2 separate regions of the Homo sapiens genome follow, and region 2 is linked to region 1. The links are contacts of gene promoters, found by promoter capture Hi-C in blood cells and fetal thymus (Javierre and others, 2016). All regions are on one chromosome and are shown on one strand. The core of a region is centred on a gene start or on the middle of the fragment in contact, and the rest is flanking DNA. Distances in the headings are between cores, read along the strand shown. Region 1 holds the start of TTLL5 (tubulin tyrosine ligase like 5). Region 2 holds the start of LTBP2 (latent transforming growth factor beta binding protein 2).

The links. Contacts are between HindIII fragments. The CHiCAGO score rates a contact against its expected background, and 5 or more counts as called.
Region 2: a contact is called between the fragment with the promoter of LTBP2 here and the fragment with the promoter of TTLL5 in region 1, in 1 of 17 cell types (neutrophils). The highest score is 5.3, in neutrophils.

The regions. Positions count from the first base shown.
Region 1 is chr14:75,657,560-75,664,265 of GRCh38, forward strand. TTLL5 (tubulin tyrosine ligase like 5) reads left to right here and starts at 3,687. Exons shown (of 32, transcript NM_015072.5): 1 at 3,687-3,828; 2 at 5,496-5,664. The coding sequence starts at 5,591. ERG28 (ergosterol biosynthesis 28 homolog) reads right to left here and starts at 3,317. Exons shown (of 5, transcript NM_007176.4): 1 at 3,216-3,317. RefSeq lists a silencer at 3,379-3,428 and an enhancer at 3,539-3,758. The HindIII fragment of the contact is 4,369 bases long and covers 2,694-6,706 here.
Region 2 is chr14:74,610,856-74,617,247 of GRCh38, forward strand. LTBP2 (latent transforming growth factor beta binding protein 2) reads right to left here and starts at 1,382. Exons shown (of 36, transcript NM_000428.3): 1 at 596-1,382. The coding sequence starts at 1,089. It overlaps LOC101928352 (a long non-coding RNA gene), which reads left to right and starts at 2,330. Exons shown (of 2, transcript XR_944029.4): 1 at 2,330-2,440; 2 at 2,712-3,193. RefSeq lists an enhancer at 1,438-2,065 and a silencer at 1,693-2,012. The HindIII fragment of the contact is 11,176 bases long and covers 1-5,546 here.

The sequences.
Region 1 (6,706 bases), core at 2,437-4,936:
GACAATGAGGGCCAGTCTATGTTAACCATAAGCAGGAAGGGAGGAAGAATGAAGCAGGCCAAAAAAAGAAATTCAGTCACACTAATAGTGGTGAATGAACAGTATACTTTGCAATAAGTGGCACAGTACTTATCCTTGTCTAAGCAATTTCTCCAAAATATTACCCTAAATCAGAACTCCTTTTTCTGGGTTGGAATCAGTCCTCTATCTTTACTTCTATACCTTCATGTTTTCATGCCATTCCTTCGTAATGCAAATAGCTCAAAGGCGATTATAACTATACTCACAGACACCTGCCTGGCTATTGATGACGGATTCTTCCAAGTGTATGGAACTTTATAAATTTGAGTAGGACTTATGGTGTGAGGTCACTATTTACATCCCTAGGTTTTCTGGACTCTGGTTCTCAGGTATACCATGCTCCATAAACTAGAAGAACAATCTAAAAGTTAAAAATAAACTGCTGTGTGTCAACTCCAAATAAAATCCTAAGCCCATCACGGACTGAACAGAGCCCCTCTTGGCCTAGGGGACCCCAGAAAAATCCTAAAACTGAGCTCCTGGCCATGACAAGATGGGAGGTCTGACATGCCCTGTTATATTCGTTGTGTTTTCAGGTTTAGAGACAGCAACTTACCAGCATTAAAGTTAAAATAGAGATCATAAGAATGACACAACAGATTCTTTGTGCAATAAGATACCAAATTATAAACAAGACCTAAGGCCATGCCAGGCAAGGGTTAAGTTACACACTCCTACATTTAAAGAATAAAAGTTATATTCTGCCACAAGGTTTTTTTTTTCTCCAGCAGCTAGATGAACACTGGCCTTGAGATAAGCAATATTAAAACAATTGCAGCTCATCCAGCTCACAGAGGCTGACTACCTGACCCCTGTTCCACCAGTTGTAACTACAGCTTTGATTGGACAAGAGACTGATTTCAGTAATTTTCTCCAGATAAGACCACCAACCGTGGACTGCTCCTGGCCAGTTTAGCAGGATCACACACTTGAGTGTCTTGGTGTCCTGAAAAGACTTTTTGACGTATAGAGCCTAGGTGTGATAGACTTAAATGTTAGGTCTCCACTCCAAAGTGAACAGGGTTCATATGTGGTTACATATGTTTGTTCAATATGCATGTGTCAGGACAACCTTCAGGAATATTCACAGCTCCTCCTGTAACCTGTCGAATGTGTATGTTTAGCAAACCTGTTCAGCATGAAGCTCTACCCCAAACCCTTCTCCTTCAAAGTAACTGTCTCTGGTCTTGGTGGGAGGCACTCTTCCCTGTTGGGTGGCTGTAACCCTTTGCAAGAGATAAAGCCTCTTTTCCTTTTTTCCAAATTTATAAATTGTGTGTGTTTAAGTTAACGTGTGAGTTTAGGACTAGTAAGAAAATTATATAGCGAAGGAAACAGCAATCTTGGTGTTGGGTTGCAAGAAAATAATAGGTTTCAGTCATTGAGCACTTACACCGTGAACTGTGCCAAGCACCTAACATATATTACCATTTAATCTTTACAATGAGGTAAGCAGGCACTATTAATATTTCCATCTTACAGATGAGGGTTGGAACAGAGAGGTTAAACAAGTTTCTTAAGGTCACACAGCAAAGTTGGCAGAGCTGAGATAAGAATCATGGTCTGCTGGACTGCTGCAGTGCTACCTCATTGTTTGAGACTATTTTAATGAAGTTCCCATTTTTTGAGAAAGAAAAGCATACCATATCCACTTTTGTCTTCAAGTTGTATGGAAAATACAATTAGATTACATACTTTTTGTTTTTTAATTTATTATTTATTTATTTATTTTTTTGAGACAGGGTCTTGCTCTGTCACACAGGCTGGAATGCAGTGGCATAGTCATGGCTCATTGCAGCCTTGAAATCAAAGGCTTAAGTGATCCTCCTACCTCAACCTCTCCACTTGGGCTCAACTGATCCACTCACCTTGGCCTCGCCTCCCAAATGCTGGGATTACAGGTGTGAGCTACAGCACCCAGCCTTTTTTTTTTTTTTTTTAAGGCTTAGTTCAACTCTTGTTGAGTAGTAATTTCAGTTAGTCTGATTTAAATAAAACCAAAATAGATAAATAATCTAATAATGGAATGACTTTTTCCCATCCTCATTATTATTTTCTTGGTCCACGGTTTATCTGTTGTCAGGTTAACCTCTTGGGCCTGAAGTGGTAATAAACTAACAGGCTTTCTTTGTCACTTTGGCAATACAAGTTTCGGTATTGTTCTCTGCTACCCAGTGGGACAGATATTAAAGTCAGCAATGGCCCAAGACAGTGTGAAACACCGCCGCCCCCCCCCGCCAACTCCCCGCCCCAAACAAGCAATAAAGAGATCTAGAGAAGGAAGGGTGAATTGATGAGCCCTTCAGGGAGAGCTGGATCACAAAGGTGGTCTCTGTCGAAGATCAGAGAGACTGAGGGTCTACTGGACATCACAGGCCATTATCATTTGGGCCAAGATCCACCCATCCTCTTTATTTTCTCACTCTCTCTCAAGAGGAGACTCCTCCGGGGTTTAGAAAAGCTGCATGGATGCACCTCTCCACTTTTCTGCACAAGTATGCCTTCCATTTCACAGAAGTGTTATCTGTTAGAAATCCCAACAGATAGCTGATGAGGACAGAGCCTGAGCACTTCTGAATTGCTCTGCCAATTTCTCAACCTAATTTCCCTAAAGCTTAAGGGCCTCTTAGAGTGTATACAACATCTATTTCCAAATTTTGTCCTGGCCCTGGCCCAGCCCAGCCAAGCCCAGCCCAGCATAGGTGTGCTGTTAAAACTTAATCAGGAGAAAGGGATTCTTATCCTGGCCCTACCACTTAGTAGCTGTGTGACCCTGGGTAAGTCATTTACACTTTTCAGTCTCGGTTTCCTCATCTGCAAAATGGAGATAGAAATATCAACCCGAAGGGCTATTGTAAGAATTATATGACAAAAAGTGAAGGCTCTTTGTACAGTGCTAGGCTCATAGTGGCTGCTCATTCGCTCATCCATTCCTTCGTTCCTTGAATTCACCAAGCCTTCTCCATCTTCCTAGCTCCCCCTTGTCATCGCCTCTCGAAACCTTTTCCCCCCAAAAGGTTGCCTTCCAGTTATCTTCCTTCCATCCCACCTCCATTTTTCCAGACTCTCCGGATCCTCTCAATCAGAAGCAACACAGACACCTACATCCCTCTTCTCCCCCATATTCTCCTTACCTGGCGACCGGGCCCCCAGCACAGCAGTGGCAGCAGCAGCCGCTGCCGCAAACAAGCTCCCCCAGGACAGCTCCAGCCCGGAGTCCACCTGAGCCATTTGTCCCCGCCCCCTCCCTCAGCCCTGCTCCAGGATTGGGCCGTTTCCGTCAGTACTCTCTCTGATTGGCTGTCCCGGTTTCGCCCGAGCAGGAGATGGGGAGTGAACCCCTTTACTGCCAATCAGCGGTTGCCGCTGCCTAAGCCTCTCCCCAGGTACGCCGCTCACGCCGTAAGCCCTCCTGTTGGACCTAGCGGAACTCCGGGTTTGGAGTCAACCTCTTAGGGGCGGAGAAAAAAACAGCGGAAAAAAAAAAAAAAAAGAAGACTCCCTTCAGCTGAGGGCAGGGCTCTGCGCCCGCGCTGCGCGGCGGTGACGACATTCGCCCGCGTCCGCAGCTGAGCGTTATGAGCGCCTGCGCAGTGGCTCCGAGCGGGCGGTTGCTTGTTGGTTGTTGTAGTAACCGGGGAAGCAGCCGTCGGCGGCTGCCCTGAGCCTTCCTGGGGAAGGAGGAGGGAGGTAGGCGCAGAGCGCGGTCCACGCCTGCTCGCCCCGAACCATGGGAAGATGAGACAGGTAAACGCCTGCGCCCGCGCGCTTCCCTACCCTAGGGAGGAGCATTCCCGGGTCCGGGCTGGCGCCTGCAGCAGGACTTCCCGCTCAGAGCCCGGGAGTAGCTGTTGGCTTCCGGGCGCGCCGCGTTGAATCGCGGCTGCGGGGTCGTCCCGTCCTTCCCGGGGGGAGCATCTGCGGACCTACGTGGGATTGGGGTGAGCTGGGGGTGGGGCTGAGAAGCAGATTCCTTTCGGGAGAGGAGTCTCCTTAGGTGAGTATCTCTACTCTTCTTCCGATAGACCTGTTTCTCCCCGCTCTGCAGGCAGCCTAGGAGAGGTTGGCATCCCTTCCCGTTTGGAGGTTTTGTTTGTTTAAACTTAAAGGGCTTCCCAGCATTTTGGGAAAGATCAAGAAATCCCGTTGAGAATCCCCTGAAGAAAGCCATTGAAGTTGTTAGACATTGCCTATTGCGCCGAAGATCTTTGATCATTATCGGGGTCTGTTTTTTTTTTGTCTTATTTACAGTCTCATCGTATTTATGAATGCATGGAAAAGTTAAGAAGGATTGACAGCAAGTAATTATCGCTGAGTAATTTGGGATTATGGTCATTTAAACATGTTTCTTTTATTTGTAGTTCCTATTTCTTCTTCTGACACACACAACGAACATGTACTTTTTTACTTTAGAAAAAATATTTTAAGTTAGAAATGCAGTGTTGGAAATTTCCTAATTTCATCGTCTATTTGAGAGTCGTACCAAACTTTGTGATTTTTAGGAAGAATAATTTTTAAGAGTGGAAGGGCATTCCTCCCCTCCCCCACCTATTTATATGGACCTTTGATTCAAGAGAATATATTCATCTTTCGGTTCATTGTTGAATTTATTTTACTGGAAACATGATGGCATCTTGTCAGCGTGCTTGTCATAGAGTCTAAATAAATGTTGGCAGGGGTTTTTTGTTGTTTTTTTTTTTTTGAGACGGAGTTCACTCTTGTTGCCCAGGCTGGAGTGCAATGGCGCGATCTTGGCTCACCGCAACCTCCGCCTCCCGGGTTCAAGCGATTCTCCTCCCTCAGCCTCCCGAGTAGCTGGGATTACAGGCATGAGCCAGCACACCCGGCTAATTTTTTGTATTTTTTTTTTTTTTTTTTAGTAAAGACGGGGTTTCTCCATGTTAGTCAGGCTGGTCTCGAACTCCCGACCTCAGGTGATCCGCCCGCCTTGGCCTCCCAAAGTACTGGGATTACAGGCGTGAGCCACCCTGCCCGGCCTGCAAGGGTCTTAAACCTTGAGTTTTTATTTATTTATTTTTAACCCAGGCCAGGTTTGTCTAGCAAGGAATATATGTTTTAGGGAATCAGTCACCTGCCTCAAACTGAGTGAAAGTGAGGAGTCTATCCTTTTGGTGCATATTCGATTTAGTAAATAATGAGAAACTCAAACTTAGTAACAGCTCTTCAAATATATAGAGCACAGACTGTATGTTTGAAAAAAATCTTGATTTTTGTGGCATATTGAGGCACATATTGAGGCACATTCCATATGTTATGGAAAGTAAACTTCTAGAGGTTGAGCACTGTTTAGGAATATAGTCATTTTCATTACTTAGATTATCAGCAATAACCAATAAATAGACAACTGCATTGTGTTTCAGGTCAATTGATCCAATCAAGTTGATTTCTTGCAGGAATCTGTGCCATCCAAATTGCTTGATCCAGTGAATCTGCTAGGAAAGGTCTCTGAGGCCCCCGTCTGCTGACTGCATGACAAACCCTAAAGGAAATGCCAATCGTGATGGCCCGGGACCTGGAGGAAACAGCATCATCCTCAGAGGATGAGGAGGTCATAAGTCAAGAGTAAGTAATAGCAAGCCTGCTTTCAACCTGTGCTTTGTACTCTTTCACTTATATACTCTTATATACTGTTTTACTATATACTCTTCTCTTTTACTTATGTACTCTTTTATCTAGTGTCATTCCTTGGGGATTATCTAACTCTGGTTTTAGCTTCTATCCATAATGTCATTTAAGGTCTTGTTACTCAGTCCCTATCAGCTATGAGAAATGAGATAAGGCTCTCTTTCTGGGCCCATAAGTGAACATCAGCTCTAGATGTTGTAAAATGCAAGTAGTAGCTCTTGGTGAACTCTTGCTCAGAACTCCCAACAGAAGATTTTGAAATGTTTAAGTATTGAAGAAAAGCATGTCCAAACTCTACAACATTAGTTACGTTTGCTAATTTTCTCAAAAGCCTTTACAATGATAAAATGGTGGTAATATAGAGAGGTCAGGTAACTTACCATAGTAACTCTGAGGCAGGATATTAGAGTTCTATAGCCTGTGTTGTGTCCATTGACCCACACTGCTTTCCTGAGTTCTTTTAGTTAAGAGTCCAATTTCATGATTACTGGATCATCACAATAAGAATGAATAATAGCTAGGTGTGTTGGCTTATGCCTGTAATCCCAGCACTTTGGGTAGCCGAGGTGAGCGGATCACCTGAGGTCAGGAGTTCAAGACCAGCCTGGCCAACATGGTGAAACCCCATCTCTACTAAAAAAACAGAAATTAGCTGGGCGTGATGGTGGGTATCTGTAATCTCAGCTACTCGGGAGGCTGAGACAGGAGAATGGCTTGAACCTGGGAGGTGGAGGTTGCAGTGAGCTGAGATCTCACCATTGCACTCCAGCCCGGGCAACAAGAGCAAACCTCCATCTCAAAAAAAAAAAAAAGAATGATAATGATAAATATAGCTACTACAGATGACGATAAAGGCTTTATCTCATCTATATCTTATATCTTTTTAAATCTGAAGGTGTTATTATTTTCACTTTTTTAAACTCAGTCTTATCAGGAAATTTCCTCAGTGACCCATAGAGAGTAAGTGATGCATTGAGAT
Region 2 (6,392 bases), core at 132-2,631, 1.0 Mb before region 1:
ACGCTTCCCGCCCAAAGTACCCAGAGCTCACGCCCACGCCCGCATCCAGCCCTCAGCGTGCGCAGGCCGACCCACGCCCCACGACACTTGTCCCGACGCACCAGCTTCGCTGCCGGCTCCCCTCCTGGAGACGCATCTACCTTCTCTCCATGGGGCCCCCGACACCTCCGCCAACCCGCGCTCTGAGCCAGCTCAACCTCCCCTGGGCGTCAAGAGCCTGGAGCGCCCACCCTCCTGCCCTCTCCCCGCTGCCTCTCAGATCCCGGCAGCGCTGCAAGAGTCTACAAGAGCTCGTTAGTTGCAGGCAGGAGGAACGCGGGCGAGTGGAGAGGCGCCTTGCGAAAGGATTTAACGTCGGGGCTCCGGGAGAGTTGGTAAGAAAGGATGAGGATGATGATCTATCTGCCTTCAACTCTTCGAAAGCGGATCAAATCTTCCAATCCCGATTTTGGAACCTCGGGGCTGTTTCCCGAAGTACTAAAGACAGAGGGACGAGGGTATGAGAGCGGCGCCCTCTCCTCTCGCCTGCACGCCCCTCCACAAATGAGCCCTGGCTCCCCTCTGTACCCTCCAAACTTCCCTCTCCCATGCTCACCCCGTGAGCCGCCCTCGCGGCGGGGTTGGGGGCGCAGCCCCAGACCGCTGTGGGGTCCCCAGGCGTGGGAGAGCCGGCGCGGCCCGGGTCCGGGGTGCTGGTTGCTGCTGGCCCAGGGGAGTGCTTCTCCGGGTCTGCGCAGGTGGCTGGACACGCCGCGACTGCTGCGCGCGGGACGGCCTCCTGGCCTCCGCCTCGGTGGGCCTCCTGGGGCTCCCCCAGCCCGGCTGGGCCCGCTCCACGGGCTGCAAGCCCGCGACAGGCGCGTCCTGCTCCCGGAACAGACTGTACACCTTGGCTGCAGCCGCTGCCGGGTAGCTGCCCCCAGGGCGCCGCAGTCGATTCGCGTCTCCACCAGCCGGCTCGTATCTCCCTACGGGGTCCCTTTGGGCATGACCCGCGCCCACGAAGAGAGCCAGGGTGAGCGGCAGGAAGCCTCTCCAGGGGTTCCGCAGGGCGCGCCCCGGGCTGCGGGCTTTGGTCCGCGGCCTCATGGCGCGGGGCGGCTGGAGAGTGGTGCGCGCGGGCACCGCGAAGAGCTTTGTGGTCGGCACGCTGGACGCCCGCGGGCTGTTCTCCCGGCCCCGCCCGGCGGCCAGCTTCTCTGAGTCTAGGGGGCCCTGAAGCGGCCGACTGGGGGCCCGGCTCTCGGCGGAACGAGGGCTGCGCGCCCCGAGCCTCGAGTCCGCGCTCCTACTCCAGCTGGGCTCGCACGGCTGCTGCACCTTCGCGCCTCCTCCCTGTGCCTGCAGCCGTCTGAAGGGGACCCGGACGGTTTTATTTTTGGAAACCTCCCCCGGCTTTTTCGTCTCTTTTATCCACACCAGGCCCCCTCCTCGGAGGGACAGCTCAGCCCCCTCATTACCGGAGAGGGAGCGAGGAATTCCAGCAACACCCACTTTGGCACCGGGAAGCCAGCGGGCGGCGAGCGGGCGGCGAGGGGGATTAACCCGTGCGGAGCAGGGGGCGGCGCGGGGCTGACCCAGGCGCTGGTCGGGCAGATGGCGCCTGCCACGACCGGGACACTGGGCCGCCTTTCTCCTGCTCTGGGCAAGTTCGAACTGCAGACCTGCCCCGAATCGTTCTCCCGCCCCTCGCCTCAGGGACCGTCTTTGGATCGGGGGACCCAGGCTGCAGCCTTGCAGGTCTGAAGGAAGCCGGGAGGGGCGCCGAGGCCCGCGTAGGGGAACAGGGCCGCCGCCCCCTCCGCTTGCGCCCTGGCCGCTGGGGGCGCCCTCCGCAGGGCCGGCCGGAGCGGGGGTGGCGCGGGGCGGGGCGCGGCGCGCGGAGCGCAGGGAGGTCCCGGGCGCGCCCCCTGGCGGAGCTGGCGGCCCTGGCGCTCCGTGGCTGCAATGCCCTGGCGCCGCCGCCTTCGCTCTGGATCTCAATCCCCTTCCACTGGCGTGAGGGTCACGCCTGAGCCTGGCGCGGTGATGGCTGCCGGTAGAAGAGGGGTCCTCTTTTTCTTTTTCTTTTTCTTTTCTTTCTTTCTTTCTTTCTTTTTTTTGAGACGGAGTTTCGCTCTTGTTGCCCAGGCTGGAGTGCAATGGTGCGATCTCAGCTCCCCGCAACCTCCGCCTCCCGGGTTCAAGCGATTCCCCTGCCTCAGCCTCCCTAGTAGCTGGGATTACAGGCATGCGCCACCAAGTCTGACTAATTTTGTATATTATTTTATTTTTTAGTACAGACGGGGTTTCTCCATGTTGGTCAGGCTGGTCTCGAACTCCCAACCTCAGGTGATCCGCCCGCCTCGGCCTCCCAAAGTGCTGGGATTAAAGGCGTGAGCCACCACGCCCGGCCAAGGGGTCCTCTTTTTCACCGAGGCAAAGACACGGAGCCTCTTGAGTAAGTCACTCAAGGAGATAGCGCATGTGAAAGAGGGGAGTGGAATCTAGGCCTCCCGCCTCTGGCTGAATCCATTCCCGGGATCCCACCCAGCCCTTCACTCTCTCGGGAATTTCCCAGAGGGGGATTCGGTGACCCCGATTGACCCAGTGTGTGCATTCACATCTTGTGTTAGCAGGGAGGCGGGCAGGGGTGTGGGAATGCTGACTGCCGCTGTCTGCGTGTCCCCAGTAATCAGCACACCATTCTCACCCATGCTCCCTCCCTACAGCCTAAAGGCTTGGATCAACAGGGCTGCCCCTGGCACATTTGTACAGCCTATTTCCCAGAGAGGCAGAGTGAAGGAGCTGGCATGTGGGCACCAGTTCACAACCTCCCACACCACACAAAAGACAAGCCCAGGTAATATCTACTGTTGAAATAAAGCCTCGACCCCTGGCCTTGGCCTACAAACCCTAGCTGGCTGCCCCCGCTCTGATTTCATCTGGCCTCTTGCTCTCCCTTACCCACCACACTGTGCTGCCTTGGCCCTCTCTCTGCTCCTTGAACAAGCCAAGTGAATGCCCCCTTCCCTCTACTGGAAGGTTCCTCTCCAGGATGTTAGAGGGTAGTTCCTCATCACTGCTCCTCTCAGATTAAATATCAGCTCCTGGAGTAGCCATCCCTGACCTCCAATCTAGAGCAGCCCTCCCTCACCCCAGTCATGACTCTAACACACCACCCTGTTTCATCTTCATAAAACAGTTGACATCATCTTGTTATTGATTTGTTTGCTCGTGTAACTGAATTTTTTAATGGGCTGAACCTAAAGAGGGACTATCCAGAAACTGCTCCACTACTACCTTCAACCATATTATGGTAAATTTCCCTTTCCCACCCTTAATGACATCTCAGGCAGAGTCCTTGGCTTGAGAGGTCATCCCTACCAGACACGAGAACTATTCTATTAATATAATTAAGACCCATTTTCAGACACAAAAAGTCTGCTCCTGTCCAGATCAAAATCTCATCCAAGTTAATCAATATCACATCCCATTTAATAGTCCTCCTCTCCCCTGTCCCTTTGCTAGAGATCCTGCAGTGGTGAGAGTGGGGTGTGGTCTGTTTTCCTGACCTCCCTTTTCTGCTGTGGCTCCTCTTTGTCAAGGCTGGGAGAGAGGTGTTAGAGGAAAAGTAGCAAAGTCTTATGTGACAGGTACCCTTGGTTGGCAGGTGCCAAGCGCTGGCTTTTTCATGGGCACATATGTGGGTTTTTGGGAGGTTCTCTACAGGACCTCCACCCTGAGTTGCCATAGCAAATTACTCTCTGGCCAACCTCTCGGAGACCCCTGCATCCTCTGTCTCTCATAGGACTGTCCCACCTATGCCAGGCAAAACAATGGTGGGTTGGCCGCTCCTCACCCTGCCCACTTCTCACCTTGCCACACAGGCCACTCCAGCGAGGCTCCACGATCAGAATTCTCCAGACAGGAAGTGCACACAAGTCTCTTCATTTATGTACGTCCTCAATTCCTAAAGACATATGTTGGGTTCTCCCATGAACTGTCTTGCTGTAGTTTAATGCACCGAGGTGCCTGTAACATCCAGCAACATAGTCAGCATCAGTGGGGGGACAGTTATAGGGACAGAGCCTCCTCTTCTTGCAGATGACTGGTTCTCTCTGGGAGCTCCCTTCATTTGGTTTGAGTTGGGGAGTTCCCTCAGGGGAAATCTCAGCCCTGCCCACAAATGCAGCAGTGTTATGCTTCAGTGACTTTCTTCAATCCCTTTCATTTGTAGACTGGAATTGAGGGATGTAGTTTGATTGCTGTTGAACCTGTTCTGCCTTTAGTAAGGTGTCTAGTACTTCTCTTCAGAATGCAAGAATATTTAGCCCTCATTGTTCTATCTTTGTGGCTTCAGCAGATATTCCAAGAGCAGAGGAAAAGTCCTATTCAACAACCTATAAAATCATTTCTTGTCTGACTTCCCAAACCACAATGACAGCTCTAAAGCAACAGATATCTTGTCTGCGTTGCTCACCACTGTTTCTGCAGAACCTAGAACAGCCAAGAAGTATGTGTGAAATGGATAGCTAACTGAATGAAGGACACAGTAATCCCATCAAGTGGGGAGGGCTGGTATCATTAGACCCATTTTAAGAGAGAGGAACTGAGTTCTGGGTGGCAGCTCCTGATCCAGGTTCATGTGCTTGCTGCCTTTGGGGCTGGCTCTAAAGATCTCCTTGAACCCTACCCCTTGCATTTGACCATGAATGCCCCTTAGTTCCCAGAATGCTGCGTTCTGTTCCTGGGATGCTGCTCCTTCACAGCTGTGGAAGCCCCAGGTCCACACTTACCTCTCCTTGCCCAGATATCCACCCACCTCTGTAGTTCTGGGCTCCCTTCCTCTCCCCGGAACCTACCCACTTCCTTCAGAAGCTCCCCTCTAGATCCCTCAAGACCCACCTCAGATCCCCGTGGGCCTCCAAAAGCCAGAAACCTTGGCATCATCTTCGTCCCTGAGCTATTTTTTCCTCCTGTGTGTCCAAGTCATTATTACTGCTCCGTCTCCTCCGTCTGCATTTCTGGAAGTCTGCCGCCCATTCATCCCTCACCCTTCGCCTCCGCCAAAACCCTCACGCAGACCAACTTTCCCTCACCATCGGGCGCCCCTTCCACTCCTCAGTGAGTACAAGTGGTCCTTGGACGTTCCCACCCTGTTCGCCTGGGGACCATAACCCAGTTCATCTACTCCAAAGACTGGCATCTTCTACCCCATCCCGGCGCCACACTCTGTCCTGCCACCTACTTACTGCCCATATCTCCCTTACCCTCTAACTGCTGGGACTGATTGCAGCTCTTCAGAATCTCCAATCCCACAAACACTTGAGTTTTGCTTTTTTTTTTTAACCTGCCAAAATCGATAGAGCCTACTTTAGTCCAAACGCCATACTAAGCATGTTACATCAATTGGCTGATTTAACCAACCAAAGGAGGCATTATGATTTCCACGCATACAAAGGAGGAAACTGAGGTTGGCAATGGCTACTGGCTTGCCCAAGATGGCACAGCTGATAAATAGCAGAGGCAGGATTCAAACCTGGATCATTTTCCACCTGAGCCCAAGCTTTTAAGGTTACACCGCCTTGCCTCCACCCCGGGCTTGTAAGCCTGGAGCCCTCTTCACAATTGAATCATGACCTTTCCAACCACCCCACCACTATCACCACCAAAGGAGCTCTAGGGCATATCCCCAAATGCCCTCTTCCCTGCCTGCCAGCCCACTGTTCATGTACCTGGAGCTCATGTACCTGGAGATGTGGAGTTATCAGAACTTTCTGCCACCCTTAATCCTCTTGGCCCAGTGAAAGAAGGGAAGCTGTTTCAGCATGGCCGCTGACTCACCGTGTGTCACTTCCCCACCCCCTGATTAAAGCCTTCTCCCTCATTAGATCGCTGCTAAGCCTACTCACCCATCTCTTGGGTCTGGAGAGGAAAATCATCTCTGGAAAACCCGGCAGAGAGAGTCTAAAGGGTTGATAAAGAGATTCCAGCAGGGAAAGGTTTGCCCAGACACATGCCCCATGCAAGGGACAGCAGTCTCCTGGACTCCCAGGGCAAACTCACTGCTTTTCCATGTCTCACTGGAATAATGTTGGCAGCCAGAGGTCTACCAGAACCTGAGCTAATTTGGTAAATAAGGACCAAAAACAAGGGCCACATTTCGGCCCCCTTTGCTGAGACCCAGACTCCTGAAAGAATTCCAGGGATTTTTCTTGCTTGGAAGTAACTGGACCTCCAGCCCTGAATTCCTCTCCCCAGGAGAGCTTGTTCCCCTGCTCAGAACAAATAACACATTTCCTGGTTAATCAGAGGGCAGAATCGCTGAAGGAAAGTTTGACTGGGCCCCCAGCCTTCCAGACGGGAGCCGCTCATGGGCTTGGATGTTCTGCTCCAGACACTGGGCAGCT